4 separate regions of the Homo sapiens genome follow, and regions 1, 2 and 4 are each linked to region 3. Evidence: promoter capture Hi-C in 16 types of primary human blood cells and fetal thymus (Javierre and others, 2016). All regions are on one chromosome and are shown on one strand. Each heading gives the region's core, a stretch centred on a gene start or on the middle of the fragment in contact. The rest is flanking DNA. Distances are from core to core; before and after follow the strand shown. Region 1 overlaps ZNF146 (zinc finger protein 146). Region 2 overlaps SPACA6 (sperm acrosome associated 6). Region 3 holds the start of SMG9 (SMG9 nonsense mediated mRNA decay factor). Region 4 has its middle 18 kb from the start of ZNF331.

Region 1 (4,265 bases), core at 384-2,883, 7.5 Mb before region 3:
ATAGGGCTGTTAAGCAAAGCCCTAGACTAAACAGCATTGTACGCTTTGAGAAGCAATCCCATATAACGGCGCCCAGGATGAGGGAGTCAACGGTTTTAGGTTAGGCACAGTTATCCTCATTTTTTGAAGAAAGCTTAATTGTTGCAGTGTTTATCTATGAGTCTGGACTAAATCCTAGGTGTCTTAATTCCTTAATGAGTCGAGGCGTTCTCAGGTTGTATGGATTTTGTGAAGTAATGGAGAATGCTACTGACGTCTCCAAAGATGCGTTTTCTAAGGAAATCACCCCGCCCCCGCTGTCGTCATTGACATAGTTTTAAATTACAAAAAGTTAAATAAAGTAATTGGGTACCAAGTTAATATCTATAAATAAATAGCCTTCTAATTTACAAATATCAGTTAGAATACATAGTTGAAGAAAACTAATATTTACAATAGCAGTAAAAAGATAAAGTATTGTGGAAGAAACTTAAAGGTTCAGAACTATTAGGAAAGAACTTTAAAATACTACTAAGGGGCATAACAAATGTGAACAAATAAATATACCATGTGACATTAAGAAGTGTGCGCAAACTTAAGTGAATGTATTAATTTACTGTGATCTTGGTCGGGTGCGGTGGCTCATGCCTGTAATCCTAGCACTTTGGGAGGCCGAGATGGGTGGATTACCTGAGATCAGGAGTTCGAGAGGAGCCTGGCCAACATGGTGAAACCCTGTCTCTACTAAAAAAAAATAAAATAAAAAAATACAAAAATTAGCCGGGCGTGGTGGCGGGCGCCTGTAATCTGAGCTACCGCGGAGGCTGAGGCAGGAAAATCGCTTGAACCTGGGAGGCGGAGGTTGCAGTGAGCCCAGATCTCGCCACTGCACTCCAGCCTGGACAAGAGCGAGATTCCGTCTCAATAATAGTAATAATGTGATCCTAATAAAAGTATGGACAGGCTTTTCTCTTTTGGAACTAGGGGAACTGATCCTAGACTTACTATGGAAAGAGACAAGCTGCAAGAGCCAGTACAGACTGAGAAAGAAAAGGCGTTGAGGTGTGGGGAGATGGGGACCCAACACATTTTAAATATAAAGCCTCAGGCCGGGCTTGGTGGCTCACACCTGTGAGCCAAGGCAGGAGGATGGCTAGAGTCCAGGAGTTAGAGACCAGCTTGGGCGACATAGTGAGATCTCCCGTAGTCCTAGCTGCTTGGGAGGCTGAGGTGGGAGGATCACTTGAGCCTAGGAGGTCAAGGCTGCAGTGAGCAGAGATCCTGGCGACAGCATTCCAGCTTGGTGGACAGCCAGTCCCTGTCTTTTTTTTTTTTTTTTTTTTTTTTTGAGATGGAGTCTCTCTCTCTTGCCCAGTCTAGAGTGCAGTGGCCCAATCTCTGCTCCCTGCAACCTCTGCCCCCCAGGTTCAAGCGATTCTCTTGGCTCAGCCTCCCGAGTAGCTGGGATTAGTTGCCTGCCACCACACCCGGCTACTTTTTTTGTATTTTTAGTAGAGACAGGGTTTTACCATGTTGGCCAGGCTGGTCTTGAACTCTTGACCTCAAGTGATCGGCCCGCCTCGGCTTCCCAAAGTGCTAGGATTACAGGCATGAACCACGGTGCCTGGCCGACCCTGTCTTAAGAAAGAAAGAAAGGAGAGAGAGAGAAGAAAGAAAAGAAAAACAGTTCATGCCCATCAGTGGGAGATTGGTGTACATCGATACAACAAAATAATACATAGCTGTACAAAAGAATGAGGAGGAAGCTCTTTATATACTGAGACAGAAATAACTTCAAAATGTATTGTTAACTGAGAGAAAGCAAGGTGCAGAATGTAGAGTATGATACACGATGCATTTGGAATAAGAAAAGGGGTAATAAGAATATGTATTTATAATCCCAGCACTTTGGGAGGCCAACGCAGGCGGATCACCTGAGGTCAGGAGTTTGAGACCAGCGTGACCAACATGGAGAAACCCCGTCTCTACTAAAAATACAAAATTAGCCAGGCGTGGCGGCACATGCCTGTTAATCCCAGCTACTTGGGAGGCTGAGGCAAGATAATTGCTTGAACCCGGGAGGCGGAGGTTGCAGTGAACAGAGATTGCGCCATTGCACTCCAACCTGGGCAACGAGAGTGAAACTCCATCTCAAAAAAAAAAAAAAAAATTCAAAAGATACATACGAAATAATAAAACTGGCTGTTGGGGTGGGGGTACTGGAATAGACAGGGCAAAGGCTTTGTATTTTTAGTAGAGACGGGGTTTCACCATGGTGACCAGGCTGGTCTCGAACTCCTGACCTCATGTGATCTGCCTGCCTCAGCCTCCCAAAGTACTGGGATTACAGGCATGAGCTAATTTTTTTTTTTTTTTTTTTAAATTAAAGGAAGACATAGGCCAAGGAGCCAGACTTCCTGTGTTAACTCCTTCCTCTGCCACTTTTTACCTTGGGGACCTCAGGTAGGTACTTAAACCTTGGGCCTCAGTTGCTCATTTCATAGTATAGAAATAATAGCAATATTTGATTCAAAGGGTGGTTGTGTAGCTCCAGAAGTTAATACATGTAAAGTTCTAAGAATAGTCCCCAGTGTGTAGTAAGTACTTGATTAATGTTAAATACTAGTACTTTTTATTACTAGCTGCAAAAAAAATGCTTCCTCAGAAAATATTATAGTCCTGTGTCTGGTAGGAATTTCTGAAAGAATAAGATATGTAGATGCACTTTTGTTATTAATATTTCTTTTTTTTTTTTGATGGAGTCTCACTGTCGCCCAGGCTGCAGTGCAGTGGCCTGATCTCGGCTCACTGCAGGCTCTGCCTCCCTGGTTCATGCCATTCTCCCGCCTCAGCCTCCTGAGTAGCTGGGACTACAGGTGCCAGCCACCACGCCTGGCTAATTTTGTTTTTGTATTTTTAGTAGAGATGGGGTTTCACCGCGTTAGCCAGGATGGTCTGGATCTCCTGACCTTGTGATCCACCTGCCTCAGCCTCCCAAAGTCCTGGCATTACAGGCGTGAGCCACTGCGCCCGGCCTAATATTTCTATATTTTAATTTTTTTACTTAAAATTTTCTTTTTTTTTGGTGGAGGGGGGGACAGAGTCTCGGTTTGTCGCCCAGGCTGGAGTGCAGTGGTGCTATCTTGGCTCACTGCAAGCTTCACCTCCCAGGTTCACGCCATTCTCCAGCCTTAGCCTCCCAAGTAGCTGGGACTACGGGCGCCCACCACCACGTCCGGCTAATTTTTTGTATTTTTAGTAGAGACGGGATTTCACCGTGTTAGCCAGGATGGTCTCCATCTCCTGACCTCGTGATCCGCCCACCTCGGCCTCCCAAAGTGCTGGGATTACAGGCGTGAGCCACTGCGCCTGGCCACTTAAAATTTTCTGTGGATATTTCCTTTTTTAACTGGAATCAGGAAGTTAGGTTTGTTTTTTGATTTTTGAGATGGGGTCTCACTCTGGCTCAGGCTGGGTGCACTGGTGCGATCACATCTCATTGCAGCCTCCACCTCCTGGGCTGAAGAGATCCTCCCACCTCAGCCCCACCCCCGCAGTGGTTGGGACTACAGGTGTGTGCCACCACGACCTGCTAATTTTTAAACCTTTTTTTGTAGAGATGGAGTCTTACTATGTTGCCCAGGCTGGAAGTTAGATTTCTGTGTTTGAGTTATGTTTATCTTTAGAAAGTCATCATTATCCGCTCCTTTGGAAGATTTGTTCTTTGATTTCTATGATTACTTTTGCATGGTTCTAATTCAGAATCTCTGATGATTTTTTTTTTAATTCTAATTGTGATTGATTTTTGGCCAGAATACATCAGAGGTGATCTTACATACTTCAAATTGCATACCATTAGGAGAGATATACCAGATGGCTGGTGATTGTTACTTCCCTTTGACCAAAATGTTATGTTTACTTTGGTTCATTCTCCATCAGTCATTTAGTGGATGGTTTTAAAACCAATACATAATTCTTGGCTGGATGAGTAAATTTCTACAGGTATTGTAAAGTGATGATTTTCTGTTTTTTTTGTTGTTGTTGTTTGTTTGTTTTGTGTAAAAATGTAGTAGTCTATACGTTAAGAGAAACTTCTGGGAACAAACTAGAAATGATCCCTGGAAGTATAGTCTTAATTTCTCTTGTCTTTTCATTCCTTTTACATTTGTTTCATTGTTACATCAAATTGTATCTTTTTTTCCCCCTGGCTTTTTCTTTCTTAAACATCATCCTAAAGTTGTGTATATTTAGCGTGTTCTAGAATCAGCTGCACTTTTTGATGCCAG
Region 2 (4,233 bases), core at 1,442-3,941, 8.0 Mb after region 3:
TGGGGAGGCTGAGCGGGAAGACTGCTTAAGTCCAGGAGTTTGAGGCTGCAGTGAGCTATGATCGCGCCACTGCACTGCAGCCTGGGCGCCAGAACGAGACCCTGTCTGGAAGAAAAAAAAAATACATAAATAAAAGCAGTTTCTAGGGGTAGGTTATGCGTAAGGGTTTAAGGAGTGAGGGGAAGGGGTGCGTTTAGGGCAGGGGAGCGAGAAGGCTCGGGGGCGGGCTCAAGGCTCAGGGCCAGGACTCCAGGGGGCGTGGTCTGGCTCGGGGGGCGGGGCTTGTAGGTTACTCAGTGGCAAGCCGGAGTTGAGGCGTTTAAACCCGCGTGTCCCGCAGCTCCGGACTCAGGACTTGTCCTATTTCCGAGATATGCCGCGGGCCGAAGGATACCTGGCGCGGATCCGGCCGGCTCAGCTCACGCACCGCGGGACGTTCTCCTGCGTGATCAAGCAAGACCAGCGCCCCCTGGCCCGGCTCTACTTCTTTCTTAACGGTGGGGCGGGGCGCGGCCGCGTGAGTGAGCGGGGTCGGGAGAGGGGTGGGGCTCGTGCCTGGCTGACGTGCGCGCCCCCGCAGTGACGGGCCCGCCCCCGCGGGCGGAGACAGAGTTGCAGGCCTCGTTCCGGGAAGTGCTGCGCTGGGCGCCGCGGGATGCCGAGCTGATCGAGCCCTGGAGGCCCAGCCTGGGCGAGCTGCTGGCCAGGCCCGAGGCTCTGACGCCCAGCAATCTGTTCCTGCTTGCAGTCCTCGGGGCCCTCGCATCAGCGAGTGCGACAGTGTTGGCGTGGTGAGTTCTGGGGACTCCGGAGCCCCAGCATCTAGCTCCCCGCTGTCTCAGATCCCACCGAGAAGTCTGGGTTCCCAGCAACCTCCAACCCAGGAGGTCAGGCTTTCAGTTCCTCCTCTCTCAGACCCACGAGTCCAGGTCCCAGCCCCTCTTTACTAGCCCAGGAATCCAAGTCCCCAGCCCCCTCCTCCCTTAGATCTAAGAGTCCAGGCCCCCAGCCCCTCCTCCCTCAGACCCAGGAGTCCAGGTCCGCAGCCCCTCCTCCCTCAGACCCAGGATTCCAGGCCCCAAACCCCTACTCCTTCAGACCCAGGAGTCCAAGTCCCCAGTCCCCTCCTCCCGCAGATCCAAGAGTCCAAGCCCCCGGACCCCCTCCTCCCTCAGACCCAGGAGTCCAGGCCCCCAGCCCCTCCTCCCTCAGATCCAAGAGTCCAGACCCCCAAGTTTCTCTTCCTTCAGACCCAAAAGCCCAGGCCCCCTGCCCCCTCCTCCCTCAGAACCAGGAGTCCGGGCCCTGTACACCTTTTTGACCCTGGTGTCCAGGCTCCGGGACCTAAGTTTCTAGTCACCAACCCCTCCTGTAACACACATACCTCTTTGTTTCCCCAGGATGTTCTTTCGATGGTACTGCAGTGGCAACTAACAAAGGTATCTTTCCTCCTTCCCTATCCTATTTCCATCCTGAAAATAAAGAATATATTTCAACTCTAGATTGTTTCATCTCCGAAGGTGGTCACTACTAACTCAGGTAGGAGGAGGTGCAGCAAGCCCACACATGCCCAGATGAATATGGCCCGCATAATGACAGTGATAGGCATAGCTATCCCAGTGCAAGTTAGGTGGGAACCCAGATACCCCCTCAGGTTACTGGCTGTCTCCTTGACATTTCCATCTGCAGAAGGCACCCTCAAATAGAGTCCTCCATGTTGCCCTCAGAGGCTGTTCCTCCCCAAGGCTTTCCTCCTACCAGAAAGAGCAACACCATCCACCTAGCAGTTCAAACCAGAAACCTTGGAATCTAACTTCTCCTCCACTTCCAATTCATTTTCATTTCCAACCCTCAGACTTTTTAACTCCTAAATATCTCATGAAGCTGCCTTCTCTGTGGTCCCAGTCACCCCCACCTCATGTCTGGATCACTGGAGCAGCCCCCCACCACCTCCTTGGCCTCTCTCCACTGTAGCCCATTCTCTACATACCAGCAGGACTTGTTTTATTTTATTTTATTTTTTTGGAGGCACCATCTCACTCCAAGGCCCAGGCTGGAGTGCAGTGATGTGATGTCAGCTCACTGCAACCTCCACCTCCCGGGTTCAAGCGATTCTTCTGCCTCAGCCTCCCAAGTAGCTGGGATTACAGGTGCCCACCACCACACCCGGCTAATTTTTGTATTTTTAGTAGAGACAGGGTTTCACCATGTGGCCAGGCTGTTCTTGAACTCCTAACCTCAAGTGATCCACCTGCCTTGGCCTCCCAAAGTGCTGGGATTACAGGCGTGAGCCACCAAGCCCGGCCAAGGACTTAGGTTTTAAAGTGTGTCAGATTGGGTTACTCCTCTACCCAGAATCCTTTAGTGACTCCCTGTTGCCATTGAGACAAAATCCAATTCCTTGTCAAAGCCTCAGAGGTTCCACAGGTCTGGCCTTTGCTGACCTCACCAGCAGCCTTGTCCCATACCCCTTTCCTCCTTGATCTTGCCACCCTGCGGTTTTTCTCTGGCCTTTCCTCCTTCCTCGCATTCATCATGATACTTCTTGCCCTCTCTAGGGTCTTGGTTCACACTGTTTCCTGCCTAGAATAATATTTTCTCCTTTTTTTTGTCTAGTTAACTCTTATGATTTCCCCTGAGTAGCCATTACATCTATTAACCCCGCTAATCCCCTTGACAAGTCTGCGCGGCTGGCACTGTATTGACTTAACTGACTCTACCTCTCCCTCAGGCCCCTTGCTACTTTCCAGCCCCAGTGGCCTCCTTATTAGGTCCCTGGAACATGCAAGTCTCAGTCCCATTTCCAGGCCTTTGCTGTGCTTCATACTTGAAATGACTTTCCTCTGAGTATCACAAACCCACCTCTCTCATTGCACAGATCCCAGATCAAATGTCTCCTTCTCTAACTACCTCTCTCTCCCTGTTTGACATTGCCCAATTTCACCTTGTTCACTGAGCTCATCTGGACCTAATGTTAACTCTTTTTTTTTTTTGAGTTTCGCTCTTGTTGCCCAGGCTGGAGTGCAATGGTGCGATGTCGGCTCACTGCAACCTCCACCTCCCGGGTTCAAGCGATTCTGCTGCCTCAGCCTCCCGAGTAGCTGGGAACACAGGCATGCGCCACCACACCTGGCTAATTTTGTATTTTTGGAAGAGACAGGGTTTCGCCATTTTGGCCAGGCTGATCTCAAACTCCTCACCTCAGGTGATCCACCTGTCTCAGCCTCCCAAAGTGCTAGGGGATTACAGGCGTGAGCCACCGCTCCCAGCCGTTAACTCATTTTTTAATTTGGTTTTGCCTTTCCTACCTGAAAGGGAAGCTCCTTTTGAGCATGTACTCATTCTTGTTCACTGGTCTATTTCCCTTTATTGATTTGCTCATTCAGCAAATATTTATTGAGTGCTTACTATTTTGTCATGTATTTTCAAGGCACTGTAGAGATCCCAATGAAGAAATCAGAAGAGACAAAAAGTTTGTACAGTACTCACATGGAACTTACATTCTAGTGGACAGTAAAACAAAACTGTTTCTCTCTCTCCCTTTTTTTTTTTTTTTTGTTTTGTTTGAGATGGAGTCCTGGAGTGCAGTGGCACAATCTTGGCTCACTGCAGCCTTTGCCTCCTGGGTTCAAGCAATTCTCGTGCCTCAGTGTCCCGAGTAGCTGGGACTACAAAGGCGTGTGCCACCATGCCCAGCTAATTTTTGTATTTTTAGTAGAGACGGGGTTTCAATATGTTGGCCAGGCTGGTCTCAAACTCCTGACCTCAAGTGATTGCCTGCCTCAGCCTCCCAGAGTGCTGAGATTATAGGCGTGAGCCACCGCGCCTGGCCAGAAAACTGTTTCTCTACTCTCAACATTTCTGACACTACATGTATGGGATTCTACCTCCTGCCCCCATACCAACCAGTTCTCCAACTCTCCCGGACACCAGTTGAGTGTCCTATAATTCATTTAATTCTAAAATCAACAACCCAGGGTTAGCGTCGCACTACACAGGTTTTAAGAGCTCAGGCCCACAAGACTGCCCCCACTTCAGACACCAGTCGCAAGCCAGGGGCTCCTGCAACCTGCAGCCCCCCAGCTCAGTAATTTGCTAGAATAGCTTGAATAACTCAGGGAAACATATTTACTGGTTTATTATAAAGGAGAGTATGAAGGAAATAGCTTAATAGCCAGATGAAGAGGTAGATAGGGTGAGGTCCAGAAGGGTCCCAAGTGCAGAAGTTTCTGT
Region 3 (4,375 bases), core at 1,713-4,212:
AACCAGCAATGTGATCCTCAGTCCAACAGCTACTCTTGATTAGTCATTACTAGTGTATGTCATGGTGGGGCTCCAGCCACTTACTAGTGTATGTCATGGTGAGGTTCCAACACTCAAGGGCCTATTTTCACCTGGTATCCCACTACATTTCAGTGTCTGTCTGTCTTCCGTTCCTGACGGTCTGCCTTCCCTCACAGTGAATTTCATTTCAAGGTGTCTCCAGTGTTTATTCTATTTGAGATGTTATATAATGTCTGGCTACCTATGCAACCCACTCTCCACCATTTCAGTATCTGTTTACAGGTCCTTAGAGAGTTTTCCCAGCTGTTCACACATCAGTCTAGGGTGGTATTTGACTACTTAACTGTTTGTAGAACTCAGTGGGGCTATCTGCTCAAGCTCAGAAGTCAGGTTGACAAAGTGTGGCCTAGGGGCCAAATCTGGTCTGCTTTCTGTTTTTGTAAATAGAAAGTTTTATCGGAACATGGCCACATCCATCAATTTAGAAACTGTCTGTGGCTGCCTTCTTGATGCAATGGCAGAGCTGAGACAGACAATACAGTCTGCAGGGCCTAAAATAATTATTCTCTGGCCTTAACAGAAAGTTTTACTGAATGGCCGAGTATGGTGGCTCACACCTGTAATCCCGACACTTTGGGAGGCCGAGACAGGAGGACTGCTTCAGCCCAGGAGTTCGAGACCAGCTTGGGCAACATAGCAAGATCCTGTCTCTATATAACATTTAAAAAAGAAAAAAGTAGCTGGGCGTGGTGACATGCACCTGTAGTCCCAGCTACTTGGGAGGCTGAGGTGGTGGGATCACTTGAGCCTGGGAGGTCAAGGCTGCCATGATCATGCTGCACCACTGCACTCTAGCCTGGGTAACAAAGCAAGACCCTGTCTAAAAAAAAAAAAAAGCAGAACCCTGTCTCAAAAAAACAGTTTGCTGACCCTTGCTTAGCTTGGAAGTATCTGTTAAATCCCTCCATGAATCCTCCCCTGCCCCACCTCATAATGACATAAACAGGTCCCTCCGAGACTCTCCAGAATGGAAGGGTCTGTTTACAAGATGCAGTCATAATTTTGCTAGCCAGACAAGTGGCTTGTCTAGCTCCTCTCCTACTGTGCTACATGACCTCTCCCAGAGCCACAAGCCAGGCTGAAGACTGCTTTCCTAGACAGAGGAGGACAAGGGCCTGTTTACAGCTGCTTAGGGAAAATGACTCATTCCATACCGAAATGACTGCTTAGTCTGGGATGGAGATTCTCCCCAGAATCTGAGACTCCTCCCTCACTTGCAATTAAGTGTCTTTACACATTATTCTGAAATCTACCCAGTGCTTAAGTACTTGTCTTCATGCCTCAATTGGGATACTGCCCAGCCCTGAGGTTTCTGTTTACTGGCCTATGAGGATGCCCTTTCCTGTGCAAAGTAAGCGCCCCTGTGTGAATGCTTTTCTTTTTTTTTTTTTTTTTTTTTTGAGACGGTCTTGCTCTGTTGCCCAGGCTGGAGTGCAGTGGCACGATCTCAGCTGGCTGCGGCCTCTGCCTCCCGGGTTCAGGCAATTCTCCTGCCTCAGCCTCCCAAGTAGGTGGGATTACAGGTGCATACCACCAGGCCGGGCTAAGTTTTGCATTTTCAGTAGAGACGGGGTTTCGCCATGTTGGCCAGGCTGGTATCGAACTCCTGGCCTCAAGTGATTCGCCAGCCTCGGTCTCCCAAAGTGATCGGATTCCCCGGGTAAGCCACCGCACCTGGCCTCCCTGTGCCCTTTATTCTGGGAGCTTCCACAGTATCTGAATGTGGGGAGTTCCTTGGAACTTAAAAGCCCACCTAAACCAGGTGTGGAGGATACAGTGAGCCGAGATCGTGCCACTGCACTCCAGCCTGGGCGACAGAGCGAGACTCTTGTCTCAAAGAAAAAAAAAAAAAACCCCACCCACATGCAAGCTGGGGACTTCCAATGCTGTTTCCGGGCTCCTTTGGGGATTACCCCCAAACTTAGGAAAGCTGGTCTATTTAAGTGTCTGCTGATGGACTTCTAGGGTGACTTCCCGAAAATTAACAAATCGAATTTACATATTTTTGGGGAGTGTCTCCTCAGTATTTAGGCATCGCTTCACACACTCCCTTCGGGGATCTCCCAGAACCTCACTATTTGCAAATATTTGGGGAGACTCTCCCGATTCCTGAGTATGTAAGCCCACTTCGTGGGGCACTCCCCAGCCCAGAACTGTAGTCGATTTGCACATTTTCCTAAGGACTCCCTAGGATTTAAACTTCTCTCTACGGGGTTCTAGAAGGGAGCCTCCCCCGGATTTAGGCATTGCTTTACAAAGCTTCCCTCGGGGAACCCAACTCAAGTTTCTCGTTACACGTTATTGGGGCGGCCTCCCCAGTACTTGACGGGCAGTTTGCAGGCTGTACTTGGATCTCGCAGAGCATAAGTTTCTCATTTACACGTTATTTCCGTCCCCCGCCCCCATTCCTGCCAACCCAGTATCGAATTGACGGTCGCCGGCCCCCTACTCAGTGCCGCACCCCCGCCGGACGTCCCAGCGACCTTTCAATGGCCAAGGCGGGGGCGGGGCCTGCCGGAGCGCCCCGCCCGCCGCCGGTGCGCTAGCCTCGCGCGGGCTCGCGGCCCCCTTACCTAACGCGGCTGCTGATTGGTTCTCGGGGCGCGGTGTGCGCTCTCCCGTGACGGGAGTCGGGTGGGGGCGGGGAGGCTGACCCAAGCCACCCGCCTGCAAATGGCGTCTGGGGGCCAGGAACGTGGGAAGGAGAGAAAATGGGCACTCCCCACTCCGAAACCGGCCTCGGCGTCCGGGTTGCAGCCCCTAAGGAAAGCTGGGCCGAAGGAAGAAGAGGAGGAGGATGTAACGCGGGCCCGAGCTGAGATCAGTTCCCTCAGGCGACTCGTCCTGCGCATGCGCTGAGGGCTGGAGCTCGAGAACTGAATGCGCTCGCCGGGCTGAGCGTGCGTGGATGGAGGCGGTCGGCTTCAGCACGCATGCGGGTTCCGGAGCGGGAGGCGGGAGGACGCCGCGGCTCTGACTCAATGCGCGTGCGCGCGGTTGGGGGGTTGAGGGTGGGGAGATGAGTAGGGAAATGGATACGCCGAGGAGCCGGCAGGAGGGAGAGCGGCCCGGATCTGGGGTTCGAGTTGTGCCTCTTCGGTGATGTTGGCGGGATGCAGTGGGGTGGGACGACAGGGAGGAATTTCACTGTTCTGGGCTGAGTGCCAAGAACACATGAATGAATCAGACTTGGCGTGCGCCCTGGAAGACACCCCGGCCTGTGGAGAGACTGCCAGGGCCTCAAATCACTTAGGAAAGGGCGCGGGTCCGGTTGGACCTTGAAGGACAGGCAGGCGAGGGTACTCCAGGGAACAGCTAAGCAAAGGCGGCGAAGACCCCGGGGGAAGAGGTCTAGACTGGCTTGGATTCAGGGTCCACCTGGGTGGGAGGTGAGGCAGCAGAATGGGCAGGTCAGACCCTGAAGGGTCTCCAGTGTCAGTTTTATCCTTAAGGCCTGGGAGATGCAGAATAGTCTGAGACAGAACTATGTTTAAAACCCTCGAAGGCCGCGTTGGAGAAGGGAATCCGCTCCAGGGTCGAAAATTTAAACACACGTGGGCGGAGTCTTGCGCGCGCCAAAGAGGAACATTGGGCGACGGGCGCGGCCTGGAGAGCGCATGCGCATTCGGAAGGGTCGGCAGTTCCCCAGTGGGCAGAGTGGGTGGATGGGAAGGTTCTAGCTTTTTATTTGAAATTTTATTTATTTTTATTTTATTTATTTATTTAGAGACGGAGTCTCGCCCTGTCACCCAGGCTGGCGTGCAGTGGCGAGATCTCGGATCACTGCCGTCTCCACCTCCTGAAATTCAAGCGATTCTCCTGCCTCAGCCTCCCAAATAGCTGGGATTACAGGCGTCCACCACGCCTGGCTAATTTTTTGTATTTTTAGTAGAGACTGGGTTTTGCCATGTTGGCCAGGCTGGTCTCGAACTCCTGACCTCAAGTGATCCGCCCGCCTCGGCCTCCTAAAGTGCTAGGATGACAGGCGTGAGCCACCGTGGCTGGTCTAAAAAAAAGTTTTTTAAAATTATATTTGAACAGGTATTACATGTACATACACAATTCAAACCTCTCTGGCTGTATACAATAAAAGTAAGTTTCCACCTCTGGTTCCCATTTTCCTTTCCTAAAGCACTGGTTCCCGGTTTCCTTCTGGAGCTGCTGTTATAATAAAGCATTGGAGTTAAGAGCATGTGTTGAGTTCATATAAATAGCGGCTGAGCTTGACCAAGTGACTTAATACTCTCTACTTCTACGTCCCTGTTTGTGAATTGGGTGTGGTATAACCTTACTT
Region 4 (4,626 bases), core at 2,102-4,601, 9.8 Mb after region 3:
TGCAGCCTTCAGCCTGTGGCCAAAGGCCCGAGAGCCCCCAGCAAACCACCAGTGGTCCAGAGATAACCAGGTCCACACACGTTTGTATCTTTCCACAGTGTCAGGCTTTGATTGATGCTATTTCAATCACAAAAGCCATGAGCCGCCTGGAGTTCCCAAAGAGGCTTGTGATGGTTAATATTAAGTGTCAACTTGATTGGATTGAAGGAAGCCTAGGCAGCTGGTAAAGGATTGTTTCTGGGTGTATCTGTGAGGGTGTTGCCAGAGGAGACTGATGTTTGAGTCAGTGGATGGAGAGAGGAAGACCCACCCTCGATGTAGGTGGACACCATGCAATTGGCTGCCAGCTCAGGTAGAACACAGAAGGCAGAAGAAGGTGGGATACCTTTGCTTGCTGAGTCTTCTGGCTTTCATCTTTCTCCCGTGCTGGATGCTTCCTTCTGCTTCTCCTGCCCTTGGACATCAGATTCCAGGTTCTTTGGTCTTTGGACTCTTAGACTTACACTGGTGGTTTGCCGGGGGCCCTGTGGCCTCTGGCCACAGGCTGACGACTGCACAGTTGGCTTCCTTGCTTCTGAGGCTTTTGGACTTGAACTGAGCCACTACTGGCTTCTTTTTTCCTCAGCTTGCAGATGGCCTATCATGGGACTGGGCCTTGTGATCGTCTAAGCCAATTCTCCCTAATAAACTTCCTTTCCTATAGACATATATCCTATTAGTTCTGTCTCTCTGGAGAACCCTGACTAATACAAGGCAATTCTCTTTGGTACTGCCCCTTCACTTGGTAGTCAGAGCCATAGACACGCAGGCTCAAGCCACTTCACAAGTCAGTCAATATTGCAAACCATACATAGTAGTGTACTTAATCAATATATATAAATGTTATAGATTAAACATTTCACAATAAACAAAGTAATGTTTAACATCAAGAGAAAAGAGATAGGAGAAAAGGGTTAACAAGTCAGTCCAAGGAGAGTAACAAAACCCTTGGTCAGGGCTGGGCAGGCCCATTGGTCTTGCAAGAAGTCTTTGAGGCTTCAGCAGCAGATGCCAAGTGCTCATCACAAATGACAGCAGGACGGTTGCAGTTAAGATGGTTATTTCAAGCCACTGAAGCCTTGCTCCTTTTATGGCCACAGAGTCCTCTGGGGAGGACAGATGGTGGAAGAATGTGCTTGTTTATATCCTTATCTGGTTGGATGCAGTCTTTATTATTTATTTATTAAGCAAAACATCTTGTCCCTGTTGGCAAAGTGCCCTGTGGAATGCAAGATGGAGTCTTTTTCTAAGATGGAGTTACTTATGTCAAGGGTACTCTATACAGTAGTCTTACCCACACGTTCATAGAAACATACAATCTCATCCATGTCATAATGAAGGCCAAAAACCTCACAGGCGCCCTCCCTTACCTGAGCTCCAGGAGGCTCCCTGATGAGTCCACACAATCACAAATCCAGTCACACCCACCAATGATTCTCTCCCAACAACAGCATATATTTTTTAGGGCAAAGCATCTCACACCCCAGTGTTTGTCTAAATTGCACCATTTCGGAAGCCCCCTGCTCTTTTGCAGACCTTGGTCAAAGTGAAACATTTCACAGGGGTTCAGGCAGTGAGAAATATCCTGCCTAACCACCTGACCACAAGGCGAACAAAGACCCAATTAAAGAAACATTCTCATCATGTCCTACTGGGCAAAGGCCCAACTACAAAAACCATCCCTATCATATCTTTCTTGGCAAAGGTCCAAGGAACATCCTGATGAGATCCCACCGGAAAAAGGGCCAAACCGCCTGATCATAAGAACATCTTGTCAATATCCTGCCGGGCAGCAAGCCATACAGCCCAGGCCTCTCCCGCCCATACCAAGGTAACACTCACAGAGACATCTGAAGAGCCAGGCAGTGCTCCCAAGTCTGGGACAGCATCAGAGAACGAAACGCAAAGTCCTGCCCTTACAGAGAGAGCCTTGGCACAGACCCAGTCAGGACCAGGTCACTCCCGTGGAACCTACTCAAGGTCCCTACACACATGCCTGGAGCTCCCCAATCTACTGGGGGGTGGGGGAAAGGGCAGTGCTGAAACGTCCCCAAAATCTCACATGTAAACACCCTACCTAACACTTTCTAGAGGCATTTCCAGCTCGGGGCTGTATTTCCAAGAACGCTCTGGAGGCACAGCTCTTTTCTAAGGAGGGCCATGTTGCATGCTGGGAAATTTTTGAACTTTTCCCAAATCACAGCTTTTAAGCTTTCCGGGCTTATTATTATTATTATTATTATTTTGAGACATTGTTTCACTCTTATCGCCCAGGCTGGAGTGCAGTGGTGTGATCTCGGCTCACTGCAACCTCTGCCTCCTGGGTTCAAGCGATTCTCTTCCCTCAGCCTCCCAAGTAGCTGGGATTACAGGCACACACCACCACGCCTGGCTAATTTTTGCATTTTTAGAGCGATGGGGTTTCACCATGTTGGGCAGGAGGGTCTCGAACTCCTGATCTCAGGTGATATACCCGCCTCGGCCTCCCAAAGTGCTGAGATTACAGGCGTGATTTCTGGTCGTTTCAGACTACATTTCCTTCCCAGAAGGACGCGGGGACACGCCTTCCCTATGGACGGATCCCAAATGCAAGTTGTAAGCAATTATAACTGTAGGCCCCTAGAGCCTGAACCACTTTTCCCAGGAATTTTTTGTGGTGCGCCTTAGGAGCAAGCAAAGTTTCAGGGCAGGAGAAGGCCGACAGGGCTTCCAGCATTTGAAGATTCTGCCAGTCTGAAATACGCTTTCCCAGAAGTCTATGGGGGGTGCAGCTGCTCTAACAGTGGGAGGAGACACCGACGAAAAGCATTCTGACGGCCGCGCTTCCAGCGCTAAGGATTCCCGCGTAGTGAGCATTTCCCAGAGGTCTCTGGGGCATGGCTCCATTAGGGCCGTGTGCAGTTGCCTGCAGGGAAACACTGATGGGCGCCCTTCCAGATACGTCGATTCCCGGGTTATGAGCTACATTTCCCAGAAGCCCTCAAGGCAGGACGCCCTTAGGGTCGCGTAGAGTTGCATGCTGGGAAATCCTGACAGCCGCTTCCAACTCTGTGGATTTCCGGGTTATGGACTACATTTCCCAGAGGCCTCTGGGTCACGGCTCCATTTGCGCCGTGTAGAGTTGCATGCTGGGAAACACTGACGGGCGCCCTTCCAGCTGCGTCGAAGCTTCTCTGGTTTCGCATTACATTTCCCAGAGGGCCTTGGGGCACAGTCCAATGAGGAGCGAGCCGGGTGGCCGGCTGAGGGGCGTGCTTCATGCTCGCGGGATTTTTAAAAATGGTTTCTCCTGGATCTTATCCCAACTGCGCCTGAGACCTTGTTTCACCTCCTGATGTGCTGGGTGTGGTTAGGCCTCGAGCCGGGAGCTATTTGCCTCCCAGGAGGAAGCCAGGGCAGGGTTCCGCGGGGAATGGCGGTGAGGGAGCCACTCGGGACGCGGAGGCCCTAAAATGAAGAAGCTTCGGCCTGAGGCTTCGGGAGCGGCGAGCAGGGAAGTGGGAGTGTGTGTGAGTGTGTGTGTGTGTGTGTGTGTGTGTGTGTGAATAAGCCAGAGGCTGCCTGGTGGGGCCCCGCCGTGGCCCAGTGACTGAGATAATTGTCTTCGTCTGTGGGGTAATGCGAACAAGCCCCGTTCCCCTAAGCCGTGATGCATGCGGGGTTGACGCGGCCGGGCTCTGTCCCCATAAACTGTGACACAGGTGTGTGTAGACGTCTATGAGGGCCATAGCGCCGGGCTGTAAGGGCATCTGTAGGGGTGACGCAGCCGGGCTGTGTCTCTGCACCTCCGTTCTGTGCGAGGTCAATGCTGGTGGGGTCTGCAGAGGTGGCACGGCCAGGACGGGTCTCCGTGTCTCTGAAATGTGCCTTTGCACTTCTGTCAGGTTGACAGGGACAGGCAGTGTCCCTCTGGTGTGAGCGTCTGTGGGTGTGAAAGGGCCAGCGAGTGTGCGGCTGTGACTGGTCGGGATCGGGCCTGGGTGCATGGCCTTTTGAGTGAGCACAGGTGTGTGCGACCATGTCACCTGTCTTTCTAGTGTCTCCGTTGCTTCCTGTGCCTTGGCCTTCCAGCCATGTGGTACCTGCTAGGGAGCAGTGGTCCCAAAGTGACGTGAGAGGCTCTACGCTATTGTGAAAATGACCAAGAAGAAGGCTTCACAAGTCACGAGATGGCAGTTTTGGAGCCAGAAGTGCTCTCCGTGCACACTACCTGGACGACAAGAGGAAGTAACCTCAAGAATAGAATTCCTTTTGGGGAAGAAAGAGGTACCTGACATGGGAGGCGGGGAGGTGGTGAGAGGGGCAGCTCCATGTTTCAGAACCCCAGTTCCTAGAGTTTTCCAGCATTTCTCTGAAAAACTCACATGCCTGTGCCCTCTTATTTCTGATTGATTTTAACTGTGGTCTGGGGACAAGTGTGCCCTATTTTCTTTCTTTGTTTTTTTTTTTTTTGAGACAGAGTCTTGCTCTGTCGCCCAGGGCTGGAGTGCAGTGGTGCGATCTCGGTTCCCAGGTTCAAGCGATTCTCCTGCCTCAGCCTCCCAAGTAGCTGGGACCACAGGCGCACGCCACCATGCCCAGCTAATT

The links. Contacts are between HindIII fragments. The CHiCAGO score rates a contact against its expected background, and 5 or more counts as called.
Region 1: a contact is called between a fragment that was not itself captured here and the fragment with the promoter of SMG9 in region 3, in 1 of 17 cell types (naive CD8 T cells). The highest score is 6.2, in naive CD8 T cells.
Region 2: a fragment that was not itself captured here is called in contact with the fragment with the promoter of SMG9 in region 3 in 1 of 17 cell types (naive CD8 T cells); the score reaches 6.3 in naive CD8 T cells.
Region 4: a fragment that was not itself captured here is called in contact with the fragment with the promoter of SMG9 in region 3 in 2 of 17 cell types (total B cells and non-activated CD4 T cells); the score reaches 7.9 in total B cells.

What each region holds. Positions count from the first base shown.
Region 1 is chr19:36,215,754-36,220,018 of GRCh38, forward strand. It overlaps ZNF146 (zinc finger protein 146), which reads left to right. Exons shown (of 4, transcript NM_007145.3): 2 at 2,369-2,442. It also overlaps a transcript of ZNF565 not described here. Among named protein-coding and RNA genes, the nearest start is that of ZNF146, 2.8 kb to the left of the region's middle. The HindIII fragment of the contact is 3,004 bases long and covers 132-3,135 here.
Region 2 is chr19:51,703,690-51,707,922 of GRCh38, forward strand. SPACA6 (sperm acrosome associated 6) reads left to right here. Exons shown (of 9, transcript NM_001316972.2): 7 at 341-497; 8 at 581-791; 9 at 1,401-1,501. The coding sequence ends at 1,434. Among named protein-coding and RNA genes, the nearest start is that of SPACA6-AS1, 12 kb to the left of the region's middle. RefSeq lists a silencer at 478-677. The HindIII fragment of the contact is 7,738 bases long and covers 1-4,233 here.
Region 3 is chr19:43,752,000-43,756,374 of GRCh38, forward strand. SMG9 (SMG9 nonsense mediated mRNA decay factor) reads right to left here and starts at 2,963. Exons shown (of 14, transcript NM_019108.4): 1 at 2,655-2,963. RefSeq lists an enhancer at 1,894-2,153 and a silencer at 2,384-2,743. The HindIII fragment of the contact is 6,293 bases long and covers 2,339-4,375 here.
Region 4 is chr19:53,517,780-53,522,405 of GRCh38, forward strand. It overlaps a transcript of ZNF331 not described here. Among named protein-coding and RNA genes, the nearest start is that of ZNF331, 18 kb to the right of the region's middle. RefSeq lists enhancers at 1,945-2,719, 2,720-3,493, 2,984-3,183, 3,494-4,267. The HindIII fragment of the contact is 293 bases long and covers 3,206-3,498 here.